Linked DNA regions of Homo sapiens: regions 1 and 3 are each linked to region 2. Evidence: promoter capture Hi-C in 16 types of primary human blood cells and fetal thymus (Javierre and others, 2016). All regions are on one chromosome and are shown on one strand. The core of a region is centred on a gene start or on the middle of the fragment in contact, and the rest is flanking DNA. Distances in the headings are between cores, read along the strand shown. Region 1 overlaps NUDCD1 (NudC domain containing 1). Region 2 holds the start of SYBU (syntabulin). Region 3 overlaps PKHD1L1 (PKHD1 like 1).

Evidence for each region. The method cuts DNA at HindIII sites, captures the fragments that hold promoters and counts their contacts. A CHiCAGO score of 5 or more calls a contact.
Region 1: a fragment that was not itself captured here is called in contact with the fragment with the promoter of SYBU in region 2 in 3 of 17 cell types (total B cells, naive B cells and naive CD4 T cells); the score reaches 6.8 in total B cells.
Region 3: a contact is called between a fragment that was not itself captured here and the fragment with the promoter of SYBU in region 2, in 1 of 17 cell types (total B cells). The highest score is 7.6, in total B cells.

Annotation. Positions count from the first base shown.
Region 1 is chr8:109,315,987-109,319,838 of GRCh38, forward strand. The region is part of intron 2 of NUDCD1 (NudC domain containing 1); the gene reads right to left. Among named protein-coding and RNA genes, the nearest start is that of NUDCD1, 16 kb to the right of the region's middle. The HindIII fragment of the contact is 2,539 bases long and covers 1,004-3,542 here.
Region 2 is chr8:109,642,191-109,646,139 of GRCh38, forward strand. It overlaps SYBU (syntabulin), which reads right to left and starts at 2,632. Exons shown (of 7, transcript NM_001099754.2): 1 at 2,446-2,632; 2 at 538-742. The coding sequence starts at 2,469. It overlaps SYBU-AS1 (SYBU antisense RNA 1), which reads left to right and starts at 1,939. Exons shown (of 2, transcript NR_161375.1): 1 at 1,939-2,032; 2 at 2,928-3,949. RefSeq lists a silencer at 2,397-2,886 and enhancers at 2,399-3,335, 2,997-3,316. The HindIII fragment of the contact is 4,274 bases long and covers 1,075-3,949 here.
Region 3 is chr8:109,382,826-109,386,538 of GRCh38, forward strand. PKHD1L1 (PKHD1 like 1) reads left to right here. Exons shown (of 78, transcript NM_177531.6): 5 at 1,245-1,302; 6 at 2,712-2,805. Among named protein-coding and RNA genes, the nearest start is that of PKHD1L1, 22 kb to the left of the region's middle. The HindIII fragment of the contact is 2,397 bases long and covers 787-3,183 here.

The DNA of each region.
Region 1 (3,852 bases), core at 1,023-3,522, 330 kb before region 2:
AACTGCCCCTTAGACCTTTAAGTACAAATTAAAGAGGCACTATAAGATGACACTCTTTTAGTAACAGAAACAAATTAGCTTTTCAGGTAAATACAAAACAAATTATTACAGAAATAATTTCCTAAATATTAAGAAACGGAACACATTACTTTAAAATAAGCCATAATATATAAAATAAGGATGTATTAAAAAACCAAAGTTTAAACACATTTTTGCTTTCCCAAGGCATTTTCTACTTCCTTAGCACACTTCTTTCCGAGGGACATTTCCCTAAAATTAAGGACTGTAAACCTACAAGTTAAACTTTTTTGTAAGGAGAGTATTCTGTCTTTATAAACCAGTATGTAGACCTGCTGCCACCTGTTGGCTCCAGACAGTCTGAAGACCTAGCAACCTATGGCTTTCAAGTGTTGGGTCCCATAGCATTCACTTTTACTACAACAGTTCAGGTTTAACAAAGGTGGTCATTTGTACATCAGTCACAGAAAAGGAGCCTGTCTAGGATTTGTGCACGTGTGCCTTTGATGAAAACAAAAGAAAACAAAAAAAATTATTAAACAATAAAATGGATATTGGAAGAGCTGTTTTCTGCTATAAGCCAATAGTCTAGTTAGTGGTCAACATTCTCTACCTGCCTGCACCTGACAGAAACTCAGAGTAGGTTGATTTCATTTGTTGCTGATGAGAAAAATAATAAAAAATAAGTGTAGTATTCTTCTGTATCCCAGGTACAAAATTTCTTAATACCTGGTCATCCCTGGACCACAAGCAAAACCACCTGAGGTGCTTGATAAAATGCAGGTTCCCAGTCCATGACCAACCCTGACAATAATGAATCAGAATTTTGGGAAATGGTACCTTGAAATTAGTTTTTGTTTTGATCAATTACTCCACAATTATTCCAAGGTACAATATGGTCTGAGAACCAAAGAAAATTAAGCAGAAAACAAGCTTTAAGAACCTAAAACATGGTTCTTTAAAAATAAACTAATACCTTTCCTAAAGCTTGATTAGGTAAAAAGAGGAAAAATATAGAAAGGAAAGAGAAAAGACAACAATAATCTTAAGAGCATAACGCATGCAACTTTATAGCAGCATATTTGGAAACCTAAGAGGAAACTGATGGTTTCCTCTAATAAAAATACATATTACAAAATTACCCTAGAAACACACTTTGAATAAACCCATTACTGCACAAAAAACTGAACAGGTGATTAGAGAACTGGCACTGAAAATGATAATAGAGACCAGGAGCAGTTGCTCATGCCTGTAATCCTCCAGCACTTTGGGAGACTGAGGCAGGCGGATCTCTGGAGCCTAGGGGTTCAAAACCAGCCTGGGCAACATGGTGAAACTCTGTCTCTATTAACACATAATATCCGTCTCTATTAACAAGAAATAAGGAGAACTGGTAGAGCACTGTGGCATTCTGGAATAAATGAGTTTAAATCCAGACTCTTACAAACATCCTATGCCTCAGTTTCCTCAACTGTAAGATGTGGATAATAATAGTATCTGGTATATCAGGATAATATCAGGATATTATCCTATGAGAAAGGATCCACAGGATCCATTGTTCTGTGGATTAAACAGTTAGTACGTGTAAAGTGTTTAGAATTGTTCCTGATATGTAATAATCTCTATGCAATAAAAGTTACCTGACATTATGATTTATTCTTATCATACAGTTCTACTGCTCTCAAAGAAGGAATATGTGCAAAAAAAACTAGCCAGTGTTTGTCTCCCATAAAGTGATACCCCAAGGCATATGCCAGTAATATCTCTTTATATTTGCATAATGCCTTCCACTTTTCAAAGCATTTTCACACACCTTGCTTTAACGTCTAAAAAACCTTATCATTATTCTTATTTTCTATGAAACTGAAGCCAAGGATATATGGAGACTGCTGTACCCTTTTTGTCAGCTACATATTACCATGTAATAGTTACCTGTACACTCATATTAGCACCTAAAAAGTATAACATATAAGTTACCTGAACTTATATGTAGAAGTATAAGTACTTGAACATGTTAAAAATAATGGTAAAACAGTTTTTATTTTTGCACCAACCTATACATTAGTGTCCTACACAGAGCAGGTTTTCAATAAACACGTTAAAATGAACTCATTTGGTAAGTCTGTCTTAAATGTCTAGTTTCCTTTTGACCAACTACCCTACCTCCCTAACAACACGTATTAGAGCTACATTACATGTGCCACAAGATATCTATGGAAAAGTAAAATAGATTATGAATATGGATGGTACTACAAAAATTAACACTTTCAGATCTACCATAATGTCATCTGACTTCGAGTCAGAAAATTGGTAGAATAAATGTTATTGGCAAACTTTATGGTACAGCAAATGCTATCAACAAATGCCCTATTTGTTAACACAAAAAGGATTAAGGAAAAACTTTCATGCACATACACACAGAACTCTACATCAAAATCTATTTGATCATTAAAATTTATTTGATCAGAGAGATCAGAGCATAGCCACTCATAAAAATGCATGTCCTATCACTTTAGTTGGCTTATACACATTGGGCCTAGATAGTAATCCTTAGTAGAACATGGGGCTAGCAAGAAAAAGCAACTAATATCTAAGAGTAAGAGGCCAGATTGCATTCCTCTGATCCAACAAGAAACAATCAGAATTTTACACTATCTGTTTTAGGAGTCACCTGAAGGAAAATATTTATTACCAGGAAATGTCTAACTCCTTTCTGAACATTTTGAGATAAACACTGCATTGCCAATACAGAACTCATACCTACACTTGGATTAGAAATAACAGGAGGAAGACCCTATTCCAAAGCCAACTCCCAACAGTAATAATGAACTTTACACAGCTATTATCCATTCAACAAATATACTGATCAAGCCTTCTGCTGGGTGCTAGAACCCATGGCCTCGTCCAGTGGGTGGCAAACTATAGTCCACAGGCCAATTCCTGCCCATTTTATGTTTTTTTTTTTTTTTTTGAGACGGACTCTTGCTCTGTGGCCCAGGCTGGAGTGCAGTGGTGCGATCTTGGCTCACTGCAAGCTCTGCTCACTGCAAGCTCTGCCTCCCAGGTTCACGCCATTCTCCTGCCTCAGCCTCCTGAGTAGCTGGGACTACAGGGACCTGCCACCACGCCTGGCTAATTTTTTGTATTTTTAGTAGAGACAGGGTTTCATCGTGTCAGCCAGGATGGTCTCGATCTCCTAACCTCATGATCCGCCCGCCTCTGCCTCCCAAAGTGCTGGGATTACAGGCGTGAGCCACCGCGCTCGGCCCATTTTATGTTTTTGTAAATAAAGGTTAATTGGAACACGGCCACACTCACTTGCTTATAAACTGTCTATGGCTGATTTCACACTACAACAGCAAAAGCGAGCAACAAGAGACTATCTGGCCCACAAAGCCTAAATTAGCTGGCCTTGTGCAGAAAAGCGTATCAACCTCTAGAATAGAAGAAATTCACAGCACATGTAGATTTGAGAGCCAATGGTGTGAATATTCCTAGGGGAACAGAGGTAAGATGTCAAGGCAAGCTTGCTAGATGACAAAATGGTTACCTAGGACTTAAGTAAAGATTGCAAAGCAGACTGACACTGAATTAAAAGTATGCTCCAGGTAGTTAATCAATGAGAAAAGGACCAGAAGAAATAGGATACAGCACATGTCTCAGGAACTGCAAGAGTTTAGTATGGCTAGAATGTAGTATACAAAGTGCTGTAAGACAAGGTTGGAGAAAACTCGGCATATAAACGTATATGCAAAGATGAAAAGTTTATTTTAAGAATATATATCATTTCATCAGGGAGCCTGCCCCAATATTCACCTAGGTTCTTTTCTATTT
Region 2 (3,949 bases), core at 1,382-3,881:
AACTAAACAGAGGAACAGAAAACCAAATACCGCATGTTCTCACTCATAAGTGGAAGTTGAACACATGGACACAGGGAGGGGAACATCACATACCAGGGCCTGTCAGGGGGTGGGGGCTAGGAGAGGGATAGCATTAGGAGAAATACCTAATGTAGATGATGGGTTGATGGGTGCAGCAAACCACCATGGCATGTGTATACTTATGTAACAAACCTGCATGTTCTGCACGTGTATCCCAGAAATTAAAGTATAATAAAACAAAGGAAAAAAGTCATAGAAACAAGAAGTTAGATTTTACATTCGAAATTATAAGCTAGAATAACATATGAAAATTCAGGTGTGAGATTCCAATAAACTGAACTATATGAAACTGCTGTGTTTGTAGGTCACAACAGCCAGAAATGTACCACCTTCTACAATTCATCCTAATAGTAGAAGTGTAGTTCTAGGCTATAAGGGACCCAGTATGGGCCCATTCACAATGCACCTGCAGTGCACACGCTTCACGCCTCTGGTGGCCTCCCGAGGGTACTGTACCTGAGCAGAAGCTGTTGCTGCTAACGGTCCTCGCTGAGCGCCCAGAGCTGCTGGGGTTGAACTCTCTGCTCTCTTCCTCAGAGAAAGGAGACTCAGAGGCTGGGGACACTTTGTGCTGTTGTTGGGGCATATGGGGCCGAAGAATCAACCGGGGAATTCGGCTTCGAGAAATCTCCTTGTCATGATGCTGCACTCTGTGCTCCTTCTCAAAATTGGACATCAAAAAAGAAAACAAAAGGAAACGCGTTTCCCTCTCTTAACTCCTGTCGGTTCCTTCAAGGATCAATTTCTAAGAAATCACATTTCTGAGTATTGAGTCTTCACAGAGTAGTCCTTCTTATCTCAGTTGCTGAAATGAGCTTCAAAACTCTTCCAATGAGTTAACCTTTCTAATCTACTGAATAGCACATGTCTGTGTGGCACACACACACACACACACACACACATATACACACCTCCACTCACTAGCTGGAAGGCCATCCTACTTCCCTATGCTGGTCCTGACTCACCTTCCCACCCTGACTTCTATCACATTCAAGCTTCTGCCTCCCAAAGGCTCTTTATTAACACCACACTCTGGCTTACTTGATAGCCTTCAGACTTCCATTTTGCTTTCCCTAAATTAGCTGTGACAGTCTGACTTGTTTTCTTGTCTCCTCACAAAGTTGAACCCTATACCTGGAACAGTTATTTCCTGATAGCTCACACACAATTATCTTTAAAATCCCTCCTCTTCTGGACAGGATCTTAATTATTCGTTAATATCCTGGTACACAAGGCTTGTTGCCAACAGAAAAGCAAACACAAATCCGATACTCGGGAAGATGGCTCCACCTTTTACATCATCTTTAATTTTTGTTTTCCTTACAGGACATCCATAAGAAGAGATTTTTCTTTCTCCTTAAAAACGCAGCATGAAGTACCCTGCCATTTCGTGGTTTTAAAAATGCGTAACAGTAATATTTTCACAATGTTTTCCAACTTATAAAGTGCTTTTCCAACCATTTTCTCATTTGATCTTTACACACCAGACTGTACATAGAGAGCACACCAATGAATGTCCCTATTTTCAGATGAGGAAACAGGCTAAATGGGGTAGAGATGCTTAGGCAATTCTGCACACCATGCCAGAAGTAGAACGAAATTCAAATCCAGTGCTTTGCAGGGTCACCACCACCCTGCCTTATGAAAATGGATTCCTAGGAGGAGCGTTTTGCAAAAATTCCACTGCTTCCTCCAACCTCTGCCACTGAAAGGGACTCTTTGGCTTAGGTAACAAACACCCTTTCGAAACATGACCTACTGTTCCTTCCACCGGCTTACCAGGAAGGGTCACGGCCAAAATAAACACCTCTGGGAGGCCGGCACATGGCATAAATTGAAGGGTAAACCTCAGCAATGGGGAACTTCGGAGGGCCCTCAGGCATCCACTCTACCCGGGGGCCGCCAGCCGCACGCAGCCTCGGATTCGCCCTGCACATCTGCCGCCCAGCAGGTACCATGCGCCAGCCACTCCGCCGGGCACACCGCAGACCCTGAGCTAAGGCAGGGTCACTGACACGCGGGAGTCCTCTTTTCCCAGTCGCGGATGCATCAAATTCCTTTCATTCACATCACACACACAGGATATCAACTGAAAGCTACACCCCACAGTCCCAGTTTCAGGAGGTGGGATTAACCCTCCAATCATGTCATTCTCCAAAATCTATTCCTCCAGTACCACCTCCCCATCTCCTGGATCTCAACTCCTAAGCAATGCCTCCTGCCTTCTCCAGACCCCACCACCACCTCCTTCCACCTTTCCCCAGACTCTAAATGTCACCCCTCCAGCTCTCATCCCGCCGCTTCTCGCCCCGCAGTGCCCGCCTTCCCCGCCCTCCAGTGCCCGCACTGCCCCGCGCTCCTTACCTTGCTCTCGCGGAGGGGCCCCATCGCGCCGCTGCCCGCCGGCTCCTCGCGCCGCCGCTGCCGCCGTCCAGGAGGAGGCACCTGCGAGCACGGAGCGAGGAGACTGCGCTGAGCCGGCGCGGGCTGCGGGCGGCGGCTCTTGGTGAGGCTCCAACGCGCCGCCGCCGCCACTGCCGCCGATTGCTCTGGGCTCCGAGGGCACGCCCGACCCCGCCCCGGCCGGACACGTGGTGCCGCACTCGCTAGAGGCAGCTCCTGGGGCGCCTCCCACGCCCTCCCTCACCTGCGGCCTTCGGGGCAACTCGACCGCGCCTGGGCGCGCCCCACCCGCCCGATTTCCCCACGGCACTCCGCGCCCCCCCAGCCAGAGCCGGTGTCCCTCCCTCTCCAAGGAGCTCGGCCCGGTGTAGGCAGGCTGCGGCTAGCGGCATCTCCAGCCCAGGGGTGACCCCACCCTCTTTTTTTTTTGCACTTGATCTCAGGTTTGAAGTGGGTGGCGTTGGATGGAGTGACTGAGAAAAGCTGCGACATCACAGAGAGACAAAATAGAGAAAGTTTTCCCCTGGCCACCCCTCCTTGGCCTCCAGGTCTTAAGTCAGCCTACAGCTCCCCACAACTGCCTCGCCCGAGAGCTGCAGAGATCCCTCTCGTACCGGAGCCCAGCCAAGCCAGTGCGTCAGGACCGACACAGCCTCTGGGTTCCGGGATCTGAAAGGCTGCGATGGATTCTACTTGGAAGGGGTTGCATCAGAAAGGCCTTCAGTGGTCAGCGCAGCTCCCTCCGGCTTGGAGAAGCCAGGCTGCTATGTAGCCAGAGAACAGTCTTTTCCCCAGCGCTGCCCTGCAGCTGCCCGGCTCCAGGAAGTAGCTCCAGCACACTGCTAAGGGAAGAGCACTGGAATTGAACTCAGAAAAACGAGTTCAAGCCAGCACTCCAATCGGTCCCTTCAGCCTGAGTGCCTTTATGCCTAAAGTTTTTGTTGTTGTTTCGTTTTTTGTTTTTTTTTTTTTCCGTTGCTGTTGAAACGGCATCTCGTTCTGTGGCCCAGGCTGTAGTACAGTGGCGCGATCAGGGCTCACTGCAACCTCTAACTCCTGGGATCAAGGGATCATCCCGTCCAGGCCTCTCAAAGTGCTCGAATTACATGCGGATGCCATTGCATGCGTGGCCTACGCCTACGGTTCTTGACCCTTCTGAACTTCAAATTTACCCTTGTTAAATTGAGGGATAATAATAGTGATACCTACCTCTAGGATAGCTGTGAGGGTTAGGTGAGGAAAACAAACAGCTCTATCCAGCTGATTGAACAGAACTTTCCAAAGGGCAGCTAAGTCAGGTCCAGATGATCCAGTCAATATTTGTTGATGCCTTTTACATGACAGGCAGAAAAAGCATTTGTGATGCACACAAATTTGTTTAAGAAAGCTCGAAAATCTGTCCAACTGGGGACTTAGAATAGGGTACATCAGCTGGGCCAAGGGCCTTGATTTATTACAATTGCTA
Region 3 (3,713 bases), core at 735-3,234, 260 kb before region 2:
ATTTTCCCCTTTATCTCTACTTCTACTCTTAGTGTGATTCTCCCTTTTCCTATTTTAATCGAAGTAACTACCTTTCCTTTCTACGTAATTTCTAACGTAATGAGATAAAATGTGCCTGCATGTGGTGTAAGAGCCACTCAAAATTTAGCTGCCCTAAATAGAAGTATTAGCAGTAATACATTTTCTTCTAAGCATTATCCCATATATATATAATTAAATTAGTTATATATATAAATAATTATATTTTATATATAAATAGTTATTATATATAATATATAAATAGTTATATATAATATATAGTTATATATATTATTGTATATATTATATATATTTATATATAATATATACAATAATATATATAATTATATATAATTATATATTATATAATATAATTATATATTATATATAGTTATATATAACATATATAATAGATAATTATATAATATATAATAGAATTATATATTATGTATAATTATACAATTATACATAATATATAATTAATATTATATATAATATATATTTTATATTATATATTATAATATATTATATAGTATGTATATTATATATTATATATTACGTATAATTATATATTATATATAATATATAATATATAAATATATTATAAGTATATATAATATATAAATATATATAAAACTATTTTTATATAAATATTTATATATAAATAGTTTATATATATTAGTTTTAAGTTGTCAATTACTGAGTAGTACAATGTTCTAATATAAGATGAAATACTGAAGAAAACAATAATGACATCTGTCTTCAAGAAGCTTCTATGATTCCAAAATATATTGCCAAATACGATTCCCAGATATCTCTGGCTTTCTTCTGTTTCCCCAGACGTGGAACTCTGTTTGGTTTTCTGGTATGTCACACCTAAATGGTCTTAAAGCGACCTAAATTGAGCATCAAACTGCAGTTTTTGTATTCCTCCTTAAATCTACTTTTTCTCTGATTATTTCTCACCATCTCAAGTTAGAAACCTGTTACCATTCTTGGTTTCTCTCTCCCTTCTCTTTCAGCCCCACAGCTATTAAGAAGCAAAACCACGATGATCCTATCCTCTAATTTAACTCTTAGGTTCATCTTATTTAAATATCTTCTTTCCTACATGACAGTTACATTATGAATATTGTTGAAATTTAGTAATGTAAGAAATTATCTATTTCACAAAACTAGAAACAAAACAGAGATAAGTTTTCATATTGACATTATTCTTTTTACAGGCAAAAAGTTTTAGAACCCCAACAATAAGAAGCATCACACCTTTATCTGGAACTCCAGGTCTGTTATATGACATCTGAAATAACTTTTGGTTTCATGGTAAATAATGTGTTTATTTTTTAGTATATGAAATTAGTATAATTCCTGCAATTTTTAAATAGCATTTTTTTCATTATAAAAATAACTATCAGCCAGGCGCGGTGGCTCATGCCTGCAATCTCAGCATTTGGGGAGGCCAAAATGCAAGAATTCCTCGAGCCCAAGAGTTTGAGACCAGCCTGGGCAACATCATGAGACCCTCTCTCTAAAAAATAAAAATAAATAAATTAGCCAGGCTTGGTGGCAAGCACCTTTAGTCCCAGCTACTCCGGAGGCTGAGGCGAGAGGATCACTTGAGCCCAGGAGTGTGAGGCTGCAGTGAGACATGATTGAACTTACATGACAGAGCAAGATCCTATCTGAAAAAAAAGAAAAAAGTACCAATATTTTAAAAAATTGATTTTCAATGGCTATATCTTCATCTACTATAATGTATTTATCACCTCCCACCCCCACCACTTATACATTCAACTGGTTTCCAGGGTTTCATTATAATAACTATATTATTCCAGTTTATAATCCCAATGGCAATAACAGAGAATGTATAACCTTGACAATTCTAGGTACTATTTTTTCAAGAATTAATATACAAGATACAGTAGTTTTAAATTTTTTTCCAACTCTTTAATTTATGTAATTAAACTTATTTTTTGCCTATTGACCATTTGTATTCCTTCTTTTATACATTACCTGTTTATCTCTTTGGCTTAATTTAAAGTTATTCACCATTTTTCTTATTAAGTTACAAGGATTCTTTATATATCCTTAAAAAAGGATATTAACCATTTATATGTTATATGTAAGACATATATTTTGAATTTATCATTTACTTTTAAAACATGTTAATGATTTTTCTGTCATCAGACAACCTTTTATTTTTATTATCACATCTATAGATCTTAACGTTTGTTGTTTTTTCTTCATTTTTAAATAGCATTTAAAAATGGGTGGGAGGCCCTACTAACCTAACTATATAAATATTATATAAATTTTCACCTATTTTTCAATAATTGTTATGGTTTTATTTTTTATATTTCATTTTTATTTCACCTAAGATTTCTCTTACTTTTTGGTACAGAGATCTTTTTTTTTTTTTTCTCAAATAGTCACCGATTGACCCAAGCTGTACTTGTGGAATACCATCCTGTCTTCTATGCTACACTTCTTTACTCAATGAATATTTACAGATACTCATTCATATTTTATTGTGTTTGCTAGAACTTTCAGAACAATGCTAAACAATAGTGGCAAACATGAGGTATAAGTGTCTGGGTCCTGGTTTTATTGGGAAAATCTCTTATGTTTTCGTATTAAGTGTATGGATAGATTTTCTTACACAGAATCTTTTTGGGGTTTTTGTTTGTTTTCAGGTACACTAATAACAATCCAAGGCAGAATCTTCACTGATGTCTATGGAAGTAATATTGCACTAAGCTCAAATGGGAAAAATGTTAGGATTTTGAGGTAATCTTTTGATGTGGAAATATATTCTTATAACTCATAAATGAGAAGTAATATTATAAAAATAATGGGTCCAATGATATTAAATCCCATTACAATGTAATATAACTAACCAGTGTTTTTTTTTTCAGCCATATTATAGAAAGTAAAACAGACTATTGGAAGATTCATTGACACAAAAGCAATGGTCGATATGTCATTCTTTTTTGGTCTGGTGTAATTTCTTATTGTTTTGTGATGGATTTATTAACAGAAGAAACACACAGACAAGTCCAATAGTAATTGAGTTATAGTCATACAACTTTATTACTAGAGGTCTTTATTACTTAATCTAACTGTCTCATTTTGTGTATAAAAACACCTGAGGCCTAGAGATCACAAAGCTTAGTCAGGGTCAGGAGTAGAACACAGTCTCGTAACACAGTTTTGACACATTTTCTACTGCTTCATGATGTACAGGCAAGTGCTGAAACCAAACATTGTCAATAACTCATTAACAGGCCAAGCTTTGAATCCTGTTTTGTCCATTTGCCAGCTGTGAACTAGATAGTAACCTTGGCTAGTTAGCTAATGTCAAAAAAATAATTGTCCACATTTTGGACTAAAAACTAGCGTTGTCACTAGAGTTTCCTCCTGTAGCATAGATGGTGTTATTTCAGTCCTGCCTTTAAAGACTGAAAGTCCTGTTTATTTCCTACAGAAAAAAGTGTAGACTCATGATTATGGCTTTCAAGATATTTTATGTTTATCAAACTCATGCATAAAACAGGTAAATGGATAAGTTAAACAATTCAGATAGACACTCAGCAATTAGAGAATTTTTTGAATGCTGTAAAGGTGAGGTATATATACACACACATACAAATACATAATTTTGTAAAACAAGCAATTTAAAAGGTTTTAATGAGTGA